Linked DNA regions of Homo sapiens: region 2 is linked to region 1. The links are contacts of gene promoters, found by promoter capture Hi-C in human tissues and cell types (Jung and others, 2019). All regions are on one chromosome and are shown on one strand. Each heading gives the region's core, a stretch centred on a gene start or on the middle of the fragment in contact. The rest is flanking DNA. Distances are from core to core; before and after follow the strand shown. Region 1 holds the start of GIPC1 (GIPC PDZ domain containing family member 1). Region 2 overlaps ADGRE5 (adhesion G protein-coupled receptor E5).

Evidence for each region. The method cuts DNA at HindIII sites, captures the fragments that hold promoters and counts their contacts. A contact is called where the count stands out against the background at its distance.
Region 2: a fragment that was not itself captured here is called in contact with the fragment with the promoter of GIPC1 in region 1 in 2 of the 25 tissues and cell types used here (dorsolateral prefrontal cortex and spleen).

Annotation. Positions count from the first base shown.
Region 1 is chr19:14,491,881-14,499,380 of GRCh38, forward strand. It overlaps GIPC1 (GIPC PDZ domain containing family member 1), which reads right to left and starts at 4,247. Exons shown (of 9, transcript NM_005716.4): 1 at 4,157-4,247; 2 at 977-1,032. RefSeq lists enhancers at 3,562-4,488, 5,769-6,268 and silencers at 4,151-4,380, 4,521-4,580. The HindIII fragment of the contact is 12,252 bases long and covers 1-6,469 here.
Region 2 is chr19:14,401,968-14,409,467 of GRCh38, forward strand. ADGRE5 (adhesion G protein-coupled receptor E5) reads left to right here. Exons shown (of 20, transcript NM_078481.4): 12 at 630-895; 13 at 2,416-2,595; 14 at 3,781-3,972; 15 at 4,364-4,590; 16 at 4,733-4,799; 17 at 4,902-4,993; 18 at 5,094-5,262; 19 at 5,941-6,042; 20 at 6,125-6,756. The coding sequence ends at 6,154. DDX39A (DExD-box helicase 39A) reads right to left here. Exons shown (of 11, transcript NM_005804.4): 9 at 7,336-7,480; 10 at 7,070-7,217; 11 at 6,831-6,985. The coding sequence ends at 6,969. Among named protein-coding and RNA genes, the nearest start is that of DDX39A, 14 kb to the right of the region's middle. RefSeq lists enhancers at 1-766, 3,188-3,817, 3,390-3,684, 3,818-4,447, 5,830-6,059 and 1 more and a silencer at 3,962-4,481. The HindIII fragment of the contact is 6,072 bases long and covers 2,698-7,500 here.

The DNA of each region.
Region 1 (7,500 bases), core at 2,997-5,496:
GGGCATGAGCCACCACGCCCAGCCATATATTTTCAAAATTAGCCAGGCGTGGTGGCGGGCGCCTGCAGTCCCAGCTACTCGGAAGGCTGAGGCAGGAGAATGGCATGAACCCGGGAGGTGGAGTTTGCAGTGAGCCAAGATCGTGCCACTGCACTCCAGCCTGGGTGACAGAGTGAGGCTCCATCTCAAAAAAAAGAAAAAAGAAAAGACCCCTCATCATCCCTCCAATTCCGCCAGCTCTACGCACTGGGAGGCAGGAAACTAAAAACATGAATCTGGAACCTGGCTTCATCTCTTAATAGCTGTGTGACTTTGGGCAAGGGTCTTAACCTCTCTGAGCTCCAAGGAAATCATGCATGTGCTTGGAACAGTCCTGGCACACAATAAGGGTTGCATAAATATTGGTGACAATTACTGCTACTGCCATCTTTTGTTTTTTTTTTTGAGACGGAGTCTCGCTCTGTTGCCCAGGCTGGAGTGCAGTGGCACGATCTCAGCTCACTGCAAGCTCTGCTTCCCGGGTTCACGCCATTCTCCTGCCTCAGCCTCCCGAGTAGCTGGGACTACAGGTGCCCGCCACCATGCCCAGCTAATTGTTTGTATTTTTAGTAGAGACGCTGTTTCATCATGTTAGCCAGGATGGTCTCGATCCCCTGACCTCGTGATCCACCTGCCTCGGCCTCCCAAAGTGCTGGGATTATAGGCGTGAGCCACTGCACCCGGCCTTGCTACTGCCATCTGTACCAAGATTCAAGCTTCCTCCTTTTCCCAAGATCCCTACATCCTGACCACCAATTCCCAGCCTCCTTACTCTCTCTCTCTGCCCACCCCACTGCCCTGGTTCATGCCAGCTTCCGTGTCCCCACCCGTGAGGAGGCATTAACAGCAGTGAGGAAAGTGAGTGAGTAATGAATCTGCCTGCCACGGCCATAAGAGGCTTCGTGGCCTGGGTTCAAATCCCACCCCTGCCACTTACCAGCTGTGTGGCTGGGGGGCAAGTCACTTCACATCACAGGGCCTCAGTTTCTTCATCTGAAAAATGGGTGGAATTCCTGTCACTCTCAAGGTGGTTGTGGAAATCCAAAGAGATTACCCACGTATCCCATCTACACTCTGCCTCAGACTCCATTTAAGGACGCTGTTGTCATTACTATGGGTGTCTCCTCCTCTGCCCTGCCCTGCCCAGGAATATCCCAACCCTCTCTGCCTGCCAATACCTACTCCAGGCCCACTCCTCCATGAAGCCTCCCAGGCTTGCCCCAGCATGCTGGAACTGCCCCTGTGGTACAGATGGCTCAGGCCCATGAACTTAATTGCATGCTGCCCTGGCAGAACTCTTGTCTTCCAGCTTCAGGCTGTCATTTAACTTCATGTCTCTATTTTAAAACGTAAACCAGATGGCATCACTGCCCTGCCTGAAACTTTACAACAGTTTCCCACCTTCTGGAAGAAAAACTGCAATCTCCTTACTGTGACCCACAAACCCCTGCAGAATCGCTGCTCTGGGTTCATCTTCTGCTCCAACCATGTGATTCCAAACTTGGTCCAGCCTAAAGACCTTGGCCTTGCCCATCTCTCTCTCTTTTTTTTTTTTCGAGATGGAGTCTTGCTCTGTCACCCAGGTTGGAGTGCAGTGGCGCCATCTCAGCTCACTGCAACCTCCACCTCCTGGGTTCAAACGATTCTTCTGCCCTAGCCTCCTGAGTAGCTGGGATTACAGGCACGCACCACCACATCCGGCTAATTTTTGTATTTTTATTTTGTATTTGTTTATTTTTATTTATTTATTTATTTTTGAGACGGAGTTTCATTCTTGTTGCCCAGGTTGGAGTGCAATGGCGCGATCTTGGCTCACCGCAACCTCTGCCTACCGGGTTCAAGCGATTCTCTCCTGCCTCAGCCTCCCATGTAGCTGTGATTACAGGCATGTGCCACCACGCCCAGCTTATTTTATATTTTTAGTAGAGACAGGGTTTCTCCATGTTGGTCAGGCTGGTCTTGAACTCCTGACCTCAGGTGATCTGCCTGCCTCGGCCTCCCAAAGTGCTGGGATTACAGGCATAAGCCACCACGCCTGGCCTATTTTTATTTTTTTTTGAGATGGAGTCTCGCTCTGTAGCCCAGGCTGGAGTGCAGTGGCACGATCTCAGCTCACTGCAACCTCCGCCTCCCGGGTTCAAGCGATTCTCCTGCCTCAGCCTCCTGAGTAGCTGGGCTTACAGGCGTGCGCCACCACACCCAGCTAATTTTCATATTTTTAGGAGAGAGGGGGTTTCACCATGTTGATCAGGCTGGTCTCAAACTCCTGACCTCTTGACCCACCTGTCTCAGCCTCCCAAAGTGCTGGGATTACAGGGGTGAGCCATGCCCCTAGCCAATTTTTGTATTTTTAGTAGAGACAGGGTTTCCCCATGTTGGCCAGGCTGGTCTCAAACTCCTGACCTCAAGCAACCCACCCGCCTCGGCCTCCCAAAGTGCTGGGATTACAGGCGTGAGCCACCGCGCCCGGGCCCCCTTGCCTGATCTTTGCTGGGCTGGCACCCCTTGCCCACAACTACTCTCTACAGTACCACCCGCTCATATTTTATTCATAGCAGTTAGTGCCATCTGAAATTATCTTCTTTATTTACTTGCTAACTTGTTTGTTGGCTGCTTCCTTCCTTTCAGAGTGCCAACTCCTCAAAAGTAGGGATTTTGTTTTGTTCACTGTTGCATTTTCTGTGCCAAGAACAGTGCCTAGCACATGCACGTAGCAGGTGCTCACTAAATATTTGTAGACTGAGTGAATGAATGTGTCTCAGGTCCTCGTTCTGATTGCTCTCTGTGCTCCCCATCCTTGAAACAGCCCCCTAAACATGCCTGCTGTGCGGTTGCCAACTGTCCTAGGCTCCCCACTTTCCCTGGCTCCCCTCACACCTGAACACAGAGATGAAGAGCCACTTCAGCCCGGATATTGAGTGTTTGGGCTGGAATTTCAGCATCCTCACCCCCTCATCCTGGGAAGGGCCTGAAACTTAGCAACCCCACGGCCACACAGAAGCAGTGTGGCCAGCAGGAGGAGGGGAAGGGGGTTCCTGGGAGCACACAGAAGCTAGGGGAAGGGGGAAACCACGCCCAGGCTCCCCGTTCCAGCACAGTGTTGCTTTGGAGAGAAGGAGGGAAAGAGGCCTCTGATTCACTCTTGAAAAACCGGCTCCTGGGTGTTTCCGGGGAGAACGCCTACTTCCCAGCCTCGGCCCAGGTTGCCAGGGGGGAACCCAGTGGGCCCAGACCCCAGCATCCTGGCCCCCTGCAGACGCCACTCTCTTCTCTGGACCCAGGTAGTTAGACCTGCCCTCTCCAGCTCTGGGGAGAAGGGAAAGGAGGGCAGCTTCCTGTTTGAGTGGCTGGTAAAGCAAAAGACCAGCAGGTGTGGCCCTGATGATGAGTACGGGGTAGGGGGTGGGAGGGGTAGGGGGCCGGAGCTACTCAGCAACAACTGAGCCGTGGAGTTATTGGTATCCAGTCTAGTGGGTGTGACTCCAGTTCTGGACCCTGGGGCATGAGTTCCAGTCCCAGATGTGCCAGTTACTAGCTGTGTGACCTTGGGCAAGTCACTCCACCTCTCTGGGTAGGCTGCCTCACCTTTTTTACAAGAAGGCACAGCACCTCCCATGAGGTGTTTAGAGTCAATTATCCTCATGGTAAATGCCTGACACGGAAGCTCTCCAATAAATGCTAGCTGAGGTGGAGTTTTTCATGACGATTATTATTCAGACCGTGGTCCTCACTGCGTCCCCCCCAAGGCCCTGGAGGGTTCAGACGCGGTTAGCTCAGGGGAAGTGCCCAGGAAAGGGTCAGAAACACTGACCCCGCGCCTGTCCACGCTGGGATGGGGACAGTCCAGCCGGGGGACGGGGGGAGGGGCAAGCCCAGAAACCCCAGCCCAGCGTTGGGAGGCGTTTGTCCCCTGCCCGCCAGCAGGAAGGGAGCTGCCCCCACCACCCCCCACCCCCGCTTCCCCTGGGAAGGGGCCTCCGGCATCCCCGCGCGCAGCCTAGACCTCCAGTCGCGTCCACGGCGCCGGCCCCACCCTGCAGGATCGGCCGGATCCTCGCAGGCCCGCGACCCCCGAGGCCCCCGGAGCAGACACATCCTTCTCGCAGAGGCCACTCACCTGCTCCGCCGCCGCCGCCGCCGCCGCCGCCGCCGCCGCTGCCTCCGCCTCCCCGTGCGCACCCGGCTCGGCCCTCCGCAAACTCCAGACCGGGCCTCTCCCGCAGCGGCGCCTGGGGGGCGGGGCCGACGCCCGCGGCCGGCCAATCAGCGGCTGCCTCTCGGTGCTCGCAGCCAATCCGCGTCTTCCGCTTCGGGTGGACCCGACGGAAACATTCCAGAGGGATCCCTCCGCCTCGCCCGGCTCTTCCCGACTCCTCCCCTCGCCGCGAAGCAGTGGACCGTTCCGCCCCGCCTAAGCCGCGGCTGGCTGTACCACCGGAGGGCTGAGGAGGGGGGGGAGCTGCAGCTGGGCCCCGGCCAATCGCGAGGGAGGAAGGAGACAAGCGGCCAATGGGAAGGAAGCTGGGGCCCCTGAACCACGTGCTGTCGGCTGAGTGTCAGTCTCGGGTGCCCTGGGTGGTGAGGGGCGGGGGAGTCAGGTGACCTAGGCCAGGTTTCGGGGAAAGGATTCGAACTTCCGACGTCCAGGAAAGCGGACAGTTTAGGAGACCTGGGTGGGGGTCAATGGCAGTCCCCAACCCAGTTCCCTGCCCGGCCTCCTCTGCCCCAGCCTGGCCATCCTCGGAGCGGATAAAAAGATGCATTCAATCTCTGGGGGCGGGCGGGGGATCGAGATGAATAGGGAGGGTCCCGAGTTTCCCTGCTTCCTGGGCTGTACAATGGACAAAGGCATTCATTCATTCATTCGTTCACTCACTCATCAAATATTTAATGTGCCAGACTGCTCCGTGCCAGACTCTGTCCTACCTCTGAAGACGCGTCAGTGAATAAGCTGAATGTGCTCCTGGTAGAGGTAACAGAGCGTGCAAAAGCCGGACAGAGAGATACAGCACGCTTTAGGATACTGCAATATCGTGGGAGCTAGTAAATCAGTGTGGAAAGGCAAGATGCAATGAAAGACAAGGGTGAGATAGTTTATCTGCTTGTTGGTTTGTTTATGTGCTAGGTCACAGAAGGTACCCAGCCAGCCTTTCATAGATCTGTCTCCTCCATCTGACTGTGAGGGTGGAGGCTGAGTCTCTCTTGTCAACCCCTCACTCCCACCTCAGGCTGCCACACGGCAGGTTCTCAGCAAACCTGTGTGGACAAATAGACCATGTAGTTTATAAGGAAGGGGGATTTATCAGGTGGACACAGATCCAAGAAACAAGAGTCACAAATGCACCTGGACCAGGCCAGGACGCTCAGTTCCCGGGACAAGTGAGATTTCCTTGTTCTAGTTCAAACCCAGCCACTTGGACAGCAACTGGGGCTGAATGCTGTGTGTTCTGGGAACTGTAGTTCCTGGAAGCCTCTAAGTGCTGAGACCCTGCTCAAGCTCCATAGAAAGACTGGTTCTTTGCAGTTCCCAGGGTGAGATGTTGTGCATATCAGTCCCACCAGGACCTGCAGAGGGGCAAACTAAAATGGGAGATGGAACCTTGAGCTTTGCTGCTGAGGATTGCCTAGCCAGCCCCACCCAGCTGGCAAACACCGAGATTGCTGTGGCAGGCCAGGCAACAGGCACAGCTATTGTCCGTCCCTTCCTGTTCTGCTGACCTCTGCCATCCCACTGAGCAATCAGTTGCCTGGGCTGGCCAGTACCCTCTGTGGGACTGTGCTGCCTGCCCTGCTTGAGCCTGGCATCTAAGCTGCCCCCTGCACACTTGGAGAGGACGGGATGCTGAGCCCAGGGGACAGCATGACTGAGGCTGCAGAGTCCTGAGCCAGACTCCAACTGGCTCCTGTTTCCTGATGAGGAAGTGCCCGGAGAAGGGGTGATGGGATTGTGGGATTGCTCAAGACACAGAGCAGCACTGGGCACCTCCTTTCTGAATTTTTTTTTTTTTTTTTTTGAGACAGTGTCTAGCTCCGTTGGCCAGGCTGGAATGCAGTGGCAGGATCTCAGCTCACTGCAACCTCCACCTCCTAGGCTCAAGTAATCCTCCCATCTTAGCCTACCGAGTAGCTGGGACCACAGGCATGTACCACCACACCTGGCTAATTTTTGTTGTTGTTGTTGTTTGTTTGTTTGTTTTTTTGAGACGGAGCCTCACTCTGTCACCCAGGCTGCAGTGCAGTGGTGCAATCTCAGCTTACTGCAACCTCCGCTTCTCAGGTTCGAGCAATTCTCACGCCTCAGTCTCCTGAGTAGCTGGGATTACAGCGTGCGCCATCATGCTCGGCTAAATTTTTTGTATTTTTAAAAGAGACGGGGTTTCGCCATGTTGGCCAGGCTGGTCTCGAACTCCTGGCCTCAAGTGATCCACCTGCCTCGTCCTCCTGAAATGCTGGGATTACAGGCATGAGCCACTGCACGCAGTCTATTCCTTTGTTTGTCTGTTTGTTTGTTTTGAGACAGAGTTCCACTCTTGTTGCCCAGGCTGGAGTGCAATGGCGCAATCTCGGCTCACTGCAACCTCCACCTCCCAGGTTCAAGCGATTCTCCTGCCTCAACCTCCTGATTAGCTGGGATTACAGGCACCCGCCACCACATCTGGCTAGTTTTGTATTTTTAGTAGAGACAGGGTTTCATCCTGTTGGCCAGGCCGGTCTCGAACTCCTGGCCTCAAGTGATCCAACTGCCTCATCCTCTCAAAATGCTGGGATTACAGGCATGAGTCACTGTGCCAGGCCCATTTGTTTGTTTTTTGATAGAGACAGGGTCTCACCATGTTGCACAGAGCTGGTCTTGAACTCCTGGGCTCAAGCCATCCTCCCTCTTTGGCCTCCCAAAAGTGCTGGGATTACAGGTGTGAGCCACCATGCCCAGCCCTCCTTCCCGATTTTATAGCTCAAGAGGAATGCCTAAAAGCTGAGGCTGGGAAGTCCAATGGTGAGCAGCTTAGATGTGAGCGCTACCTCTGTTCCTTTAAAAGAAAAAAGAGGCCGGGTGCAATGGCTCACGCCTGTAATCCCAACACATTGGGAGGGTGAGGCGGGCGGATCACAAGGTCAGGAGTTCGAGACCAGCCTGGCCAACATGGTGAAACCTCGTCTCTACTAAAAATACAAAAATTAGCTGGGTGTGATGGTGGGCGCCTGTAGTCCCAGCTACTCAGGAGGCTGAGGCAGGAGAATGGTGTGAACCCGGGAGGCGGAGCTGGCAGTGAGCCGAGATTGCGCCACTGCCCTCCAGCCTGGGCAACAGAACGAGACTCCGTCTCAAAAAAAAAAAAAAAAAAAGAAAAAGAAAAAACAGAAAAAAGAAAAAAATTCCATCCTTGAATGCCAGCTAACACATGCAGAAGGGAAGGTTGTGTGCGTTAGAACATCATTGTTTTGCTGAGTGCAGTGGCTGCA
Region 2 (7,500 bases), core at 4,484-6,983, 88 kb before region 1:
AAAAAATACAAAAATTAGCCAGGTGTGGTGGCACGTGCCTGTAGTCCCAGTTACTCAGGAGGCTGAAGCGAGAGGATCAATTGAGCCCGGGAGGTCAAGGCTGCTGTGAGCTATGATCACGCCAAAGCACTCCAGCCTGGACGACATAGTGAGACCCTGTCTTAAAAAAAAAAAAAAGTCCAGGCACAGTGGCTCATGCCTGTAGTCCTAGCACCCTAGCACTTTGGCAGGCTGAGGTAGATGGATCACCCGAGGTCAGGAGTTCAAAACTAGCCTGGCCAAGATGGTGAAACCCCATCTCTACTAAAAATACAAAAATTAGCTGGGAGTGGTGGCAGGTGCCTATAATCCCAGCTACTTGGGAGGCTGAGACAGAAGAATTGCTTGAACCTGGGGAGTGGAGGTTGCAGTGAGCTGAGATCACGCCACTGCACTCCAGCCTGGGCGAAAGAGCGAAACTCCGTCTCAAAAAAAAAAAAACAAGGAACAACTAGAAACTGACTCATCGGGAGGGGCTCCTGGCGTCATCGTGGTGGACTGGCTGAGCCTGAGCTGGGTCATCTTGGGAGGGAGGATAGAGCATGGGAGGAGGACAACGGGAGTAGGCAGCGAGTGTGTCTGTTCCCCAGGCCCCGCCGTGGCGGGCATCCTCTCCATCCAGAACATGACGACATTGCTGGCCAATGCCTCCTTGAACCTGCATTCCAAGAAGCAAGCCGAACTGGAGGAGATATATGAAAGCAGCATCCGTGGTGTCCAACTCAGACGCCTCTCTGCCGTCAACTCCATCTTTCTGAGCCACAACAACACCAAGGAACTCAACTCCCCCATCCTTTTCGCCTTCTCCCACCTTGAGTCCTCCGATGGGGAGGCGGGAAGAGACCCTCCTGCCAAGGTCTCTGCTCACTCTGCTCACTTCCTCAAAGATAACCCAGGGCCTTCGCACATGCTGGGCCTCTCTCTGGGATGCTCTTTCCCGACGTGACTCAGTCTTTTATGTTTCTGGCCTTCTGATTTGGGCCTTCCCCAACCTCATTACTTATTTATTTCCTTACTTTATTTATTTAATTTAATTAATTAATTTATTTATTTTAAGACAGAGTCTCACTCTGTCGTCCAGGCTGGAGTGCAGTGGCACGTTCTCGGCTCACTGCAATCTCTGCCTCCCAGGTTCAAGTGATTCTCCTGCCTCAGCCTCCCAAGTAGATGGGATTACAGGCATGCGCCACCACACCTCGCTGATTTTGTATTTTTAGTAGAGACGGGGTTTCTCCATGTTGGTCAGGTTGGTCTCAAACTCCCGACCTCAGGTGATCTGCCCGCCTTGGCCTCTCAAAGTACTGCGATTACAGGCGTGAGCCACCACTCCCAGACTTTCTTTTCTTATTTATTTATATTTTTAGACAGGAGGGTCTCACTCTGTGGCCCAGGCTGGAGTGCAGTGGCGCGATTATAGCTCACTGCAACCTCGAACTCCTGAACTCAACCATTCCTCCAGCCTCAGAGTTTTGAGTAGCTGAGGCTACAGGCATGCACCACCACTCCCAGCTAATTTTTTTATTTTTGATAGAGACGGGGACCTCACTATTTTTCCCAGGATGGTCTAGAATTCCTGGGCTCCAGTGATCCTCCCACCTCAGCCTCCTGAGTAGCTGGGACTATAAGCGTGCACTACTATGCCCAGTTAATTAAAAACAAAAAAATTAATGGAGATGGAGGTCTCGCTATGTTGCCACAGCTGGTCTCAAACTCCTGGCCTCAAGCGATCCTCCCACCTTGGCCTCCCAAAGTCCTGGAATTACTTACAGGCAAGAGCCATCATCATCCCTGGCCACCTTCTAATGCACTATCTACATTACTTATTCGTTAGGTTTATGTCATAATCTGCCTCTCCCACTTTTTTTTTTTTTTTTTTTTTTTTTTTTTGAGATGGAGTTTCACTCTTGTCATCCAGGCTGGAGTGCAGTGGCTCATTCTCGGCTCAGTGCAACCTCCACCTCCCAGGTTCAAGCGATTCTCCTGCCCAGGACTCCCAAGTAGCTGGGATTTACAGGTGCTTGCCACCAGGCCCAGCTAATTTTTGTATTTTTTAGTGGAGACGGGGTTTCGCCATGTTGGCCAGGCTGGTCTCAAACTCCTGACCTCAGGTGATCCGCCTGCCTCAGCCTCCCAAAGTGCTGGGATTACAGGCATGAGCCACTATGCCTGGCCACCTCTCCCACTCTTATGTCAACCTCACAAGGGTAGGTACTTGTGTGTGCCCTGTTCACTGCTGTGTCTCCAAACCTGTTACATTCAGTAGGCGCTCGGTCAATACTCATCTAGTAAAAAGCAGCCCTCTTAGACTCAGCCCAAGCCCAGGACCTAAGAGTGAGCTCCAGGCCAACCTTTCTGACCACCCCCATCTGCCCACAGGACGTGATGCCTGGGCCACGGCAGGAGCTGCTCTGTGCCTTCTGGAAGAGTGACAGCGACAGGGGAGGGCACTGGGCCACCGAGGGCTGCCAGGTGCTGGGCAGCAAGAACGGCAGCACCACCTGCCAATGCAGCCACCTGAGCAGCTTTGCGATCCTTATGGCTCATTATGACGTGGAGGTAAGTAGCTGGAGGCATCCTCAAGTGCCCACAGGTAATGAGGTCCAGCTGCAACCAGACAGGCAGCTAGTTCTCCATGGAGCCCTACTGGTTGCTCAGATATATCTGCATGGTTGCACAGCCCAGGTGTCCCCACGTCACACCCTTCGCAGCCTCTTCCTTTGGCCTCTTCTCTACAACCCAGCAACTATACACTGGGTGCAGCCACTAGCTCCGCTCCTCTGCCTGTCCATCCCGTACCAGTTGTGAGATGTCAACTAAAAGCTCCCCATGGAGAGCATTCCAAGGGGGCACCACTTGCCCGTTTTTTTTTTTTTTTGAGACGGAGTCTCTGTCGCCCAGGTTGGAGTATGGTGGCACAATCTCAGCTAGTGAGGTTCAAGGGATTCTCCTGCCTTAGCCTCCCGAGTAGCCGAGATTACAGGCGTGCACCACCATGCCTGAGTAATTTTTGGTATTTTTAGTAGAGACAGGGTTTCACCATGTTGCCCAGGCTAGTCTCAAACTCCTGACCTCAGGTGATCCACCCACCTCGGCCTCCCGAAGTGCTGGGCTTACAGGTGTCAGCCACCGCACCCGGCCTCTTTTTTTTTTTCTTTTGGACAGAGTCTTGCTCTATCGCTTAGGCTGGAGTGCAGTAGTGTGATCTTGGCTCACTGCAACCCCCGCCTCCGGATTCAAGCGATTCTCCTGCCTCAGCCTCCCAAGTAGCTGGGATTACAGGTGCATGCCACCATGCACCGCTAATTTTTGTATTTTTAGTAGAGGCGGGGTTTCACTATGTTGGGCAGGCTGGTCTCGAACTCCTGACCTCAGGTGATCTGCCCCCCCTCAGCCTCTCAAAGTGCTAGGATTAGAGGCATGAGCCACCACACCCAGCCTGGAGCACCACTTTCTGTACGTGACTTCAGTAGGATCCATCGTTAAGCTGGGCCTTGTCGAAAACTGCAATTAACCAGGCAGAGAAGGGGGGCGCCTGTGGTCCAGGCCAAAGGCCCAGCAAGCACAAAAATGTGAAATCCCTAGACTCCCCTTCCAGCTGGTAAGTGTGGCCAGATCTAGGAGGGACAAGGGAGGAGGTCAGAGAGGTGGGCCCGTCAAAGTGTGGGGGGGAAAAGGGACCACAAAGAGGGCAGGAAGGCCTCATGCCCTGAAGGAACCCTGAGCACCCGGTGCCACTCCTAGGACTGGAAGCTGACCCTGATCACCAGGGTGGGACTGGCGCTGTCACTCTTCTGCCTGCTGCTGTGCATCCTCACTTTCCTGCTGGTGCGGCCCATCCAGGGCTCGCGCACCACCATACACCTGCACCTCTGCATCTGCCTCTTCGTGGGCTCCACCATCTTCCTGGCCGGCATCGAGAACGAAGGCGGCCAGGTGAGGTCCCGCCCCGCTCCCTCCTGAGCTCTGGGGTCAGGGAGGCCTGGGAGGGGTTAGCCCCGCCCACTCCCGGGGCTCAGTCGGGTAGGCGGGCCCTGGAGGCATGAGGCCCCGCCCCTGTCCGGGATCTGGCCCCGCCCACCGGGGGGTCGGGTTGTCTCTTTAAAGGGCGCTGGCTTTGGAGCTGCCTGGCCACACCCCGAGTGCCCGCTCGCTTCTGAGCGTTGTTGGGGGTGGGCCCTGGGGGGAAACCTGGCCCCCGCTCCAGACCCGCCCACCCTCCGGCTGTGGTCCCGCCCACTCTCGGGACCTGGCAGGCGACTGGCTCTGGCGCCGCATGCCCCTCCCCGCGCTGACGTCGCTCCGCCCCTCCGTCCCCGCCCCGCAGGTGGGGCTGCGCTGCCGCCTGGTGGCCGGGCTGCTGCACTACTGTTTCCTGGCCGCCTTCTGCTGGATGAGCCTCGAAGGCCTGGAGCTCTACTTTCTTGTGGTGCGCGTGTTCCAAGGCCAGGGCCTGAGTACGCGCTGGCTCTGCCTGATCGGCTATGGCGTGCCCCTGCTCATCGTGGGCGTCTCGGCTGCCATCTACAGCAAGGGCTACGGCCGCCCCAGATAGTGAGTGCAGCGAGATGGGGCAGGAGGAAGGCGGGGTGCTGGGCCTGGGGCTCACAGGCAGTGCCACACACAATGTCCGGCCGCCCTCCGTTCCGCTCCTGGCTTCCTGGGGCACTGATGGGACCCCTCCCTTCCCTCCTAGCTGCTGGTTGGACTTTGAGCAGGGCTTCCTCTGGAGCTTCTTGGGACCTGTGACCTTCATCATTTTGGTAAGTACCCACTCTCCCTCCACCGAAGCCCGAGCGCCACAGGCCCAGGCCCGGCTGGACCATCGCTCTCGCCCTCTAACCCACAATCTGCTCCCTGCCCAGTGCAATGCTGTCATTTTCGTGACTACCGTCTGGAAGCTCACTCAGAAGTTTTCTGAAATCAATCCAGACATGAAGAAATTAAAGAAGGCGAGGTGAGAGGAGAGGCTGGAAGGACTTGGAGGCGGGGCCGGGGTGAGGGGCATGAAGCTGGAGGTGAGGTGGGGGCCCACGCTGCAACCCCGCTCCTCGCAGGGCGCTGACCATCACGGCCATCGCGCAGCTCTTCCTGTTGGGCTGCACCTGGGTCTTTGGCCTGTTCATCTTCGACGATCGGAGCTTGGTGCTGACCTATGTGTTTACCATCCTCAACTGCCTGCAGGGCGCCTTCCTCTACCTGCTGCACTGCCTGCTCAACAAGAAGGTGGGGGCCTGGGCACAGTGGCGCACGCCTGTCATCCTCCCACCTATTTGGGAGGCTGAGGTGGGAGGATTGCTTGAGCCCAGAAGTTGGAGACCAGCCTGGGCAACATAACCAGATGCTGTCTTTACAAAAAAATTCAAAGATAGCCAGGGTGAGGCGCCTGTAATCCCAACAGTTTGGGAGGCCGAGGTGGGCAGATCACCTGAGGTCAGTAATTCAAGACCAGCCTGGCCAACATGGTGAAACCCTGTCTCTACTAAAAATACAAAAATTAGCCAGGCATGGTGGCACACGCCTGTAGTCCCAGCTACTTGGGAGGCTGAGGCAGGAGAATCATTTGAACCAGGAGTGCAGTGGGCCAAGATGGCACCATTGCACTCCAGCCTGGGTGACAGTGAGACTTGTCTCCAAAAAAAAAAAAAAAAGCCGGGTGTGCTGAATACCCATCTCAGCTTCTCAGGAGGCTGGGGCAAGAGGATCACTTGGGCCCAGGAGTTCAAGGTTGCAGTAAGCTATGATGGTGCCACTACACTCCAGCCTGGGTGACAGGGGGACCCGATCTCAAAAAAAAGACAAACACAAAAACACCAAGAAGGTGGGGCTGAGGGCAGAGCATGGGGAGGAGCGTGCATGGTCCCAGGGCCTGCTCCTGCCCTGACTTGGTGTCTGGGCCGGCAGGTTCGGGAAGAATACCGGAAGTGGGCCTGCCTAGTTGCTGGGGGGAGCAAGTACTCAGAATTCACCTCCACCACGTCTGGCACTGGCCACAATCAGACCCGGGTAAGGGGCTGCGCCTGGGGCGGGTGTGGGCAGGAAGGCACCAGGGCTAGCGGGGCTCAGGCCTCTGGGCTCTCCTCTCCAGGCCCTCAGGGCATCAGAGTCCGGCATATGAAGGCGCATGGTTCTGGACGGCCCAGCAGCTCCTGTGGCCACAGCAGCTTTGTACACGAAGACCATCCATCCTCCCTTCGTCCACCACTCTACTCCCTCCACCCTCCCTCCCTGATCCCGTGTGCCACCAGGAGGGAGTGGCAGCTATAGTCTGGCACCAAAGTCCAGGACACCCAGTGGGGTGGAGTCGGAGCCACTGGTCCTGCTGCTGGCTGCCTCTCTGCTCCACCTTGTGACCCAGGGTGGGGACAGGGGCTGGCCCAGGGCTGCAATGCAGCATGTTGCCCTGGCACCTGTGGCCAGTACTCGGGACAGACTAAGGGCGCTTGTCCCATCCTGGACTTTTCCTCTCATGTCTTTGCTGCAGAACTGAAGAGACTAGGCGCTGGGGCTCAGCTTCCCTCTTAAGCTAAGACTGATGTCAGAGGCCCCATGGCGAGGCCCCTTGGGGCCACTGCCTGAGGCTCACGGTACAGAGGCCTGCCCTGCCTGGCCGGGCAGGAGGTTCTCACTGTTGTGAAGGTTGTAGACGTTGTGTAATGTGTTTTTATCTGTTAAAATTTTTCAGTGTTGACACTTAAAATTAAACACATGCATACAGAAGATGGCCTTGCCTGCTGGTGGTGATTCAGAGGCCGGGCCCAGGGTGTCCGTGAAAGGCCAAGATGACCAAGAAATAGATGGGGTGGGAGCCAGGCTTCCATAATAACAAGTTTATTCTCATACAATCTCTAGCTTCTCAACAGTGGCGCCTGGAAAGGGGAGGTGAAGCTGCATGCGGGCGGCTCCGGGTGGGCGGCTCTGGCACGTGGTGGTTACCGGCTCTGCTCGACTGTAAGACATGAGATGCAGTGAACTGAAGGGCCGGGGGAGGAACCCTCTGCCCCAGACCCCTGGCCCTGCCCAAGGCACTTACTGTATGTGGAGATGTCGATTTCCTCTGGAAGTTCTGCCACATTAACTTCAAACCGGTCCTGGACGTCATTGAGGATTTTGGCATCATTCTCGTCAGACACAAAAGTGATGGCTAGGCCTTTGGTGCCAAAGCGACCCGCCCGGGCCACCTGCAGGCAGACAGGATCAGGGTCAGGCCACAGATACTACCTCAGGACTTGAGGAAAAGCAGGGCTGGGGCCCCACCCCACCGCCAGGGGAAAGCAACATGCCCGTGAGGCTGCTCACCCGGTGCAGGTAGGTGTCCGAGTCCTCAGGCATGTCGTAGTTAAAGACGATGTTGACTCGCTCGATGTCCATCCCCCGGCCAAACAGATTGGTGGCCACCAGGATCCGCCGCTGGAAATCCTTGAACTGCTGATAGCGTGACAGGCTGGGGTGCAGGAGAAACAA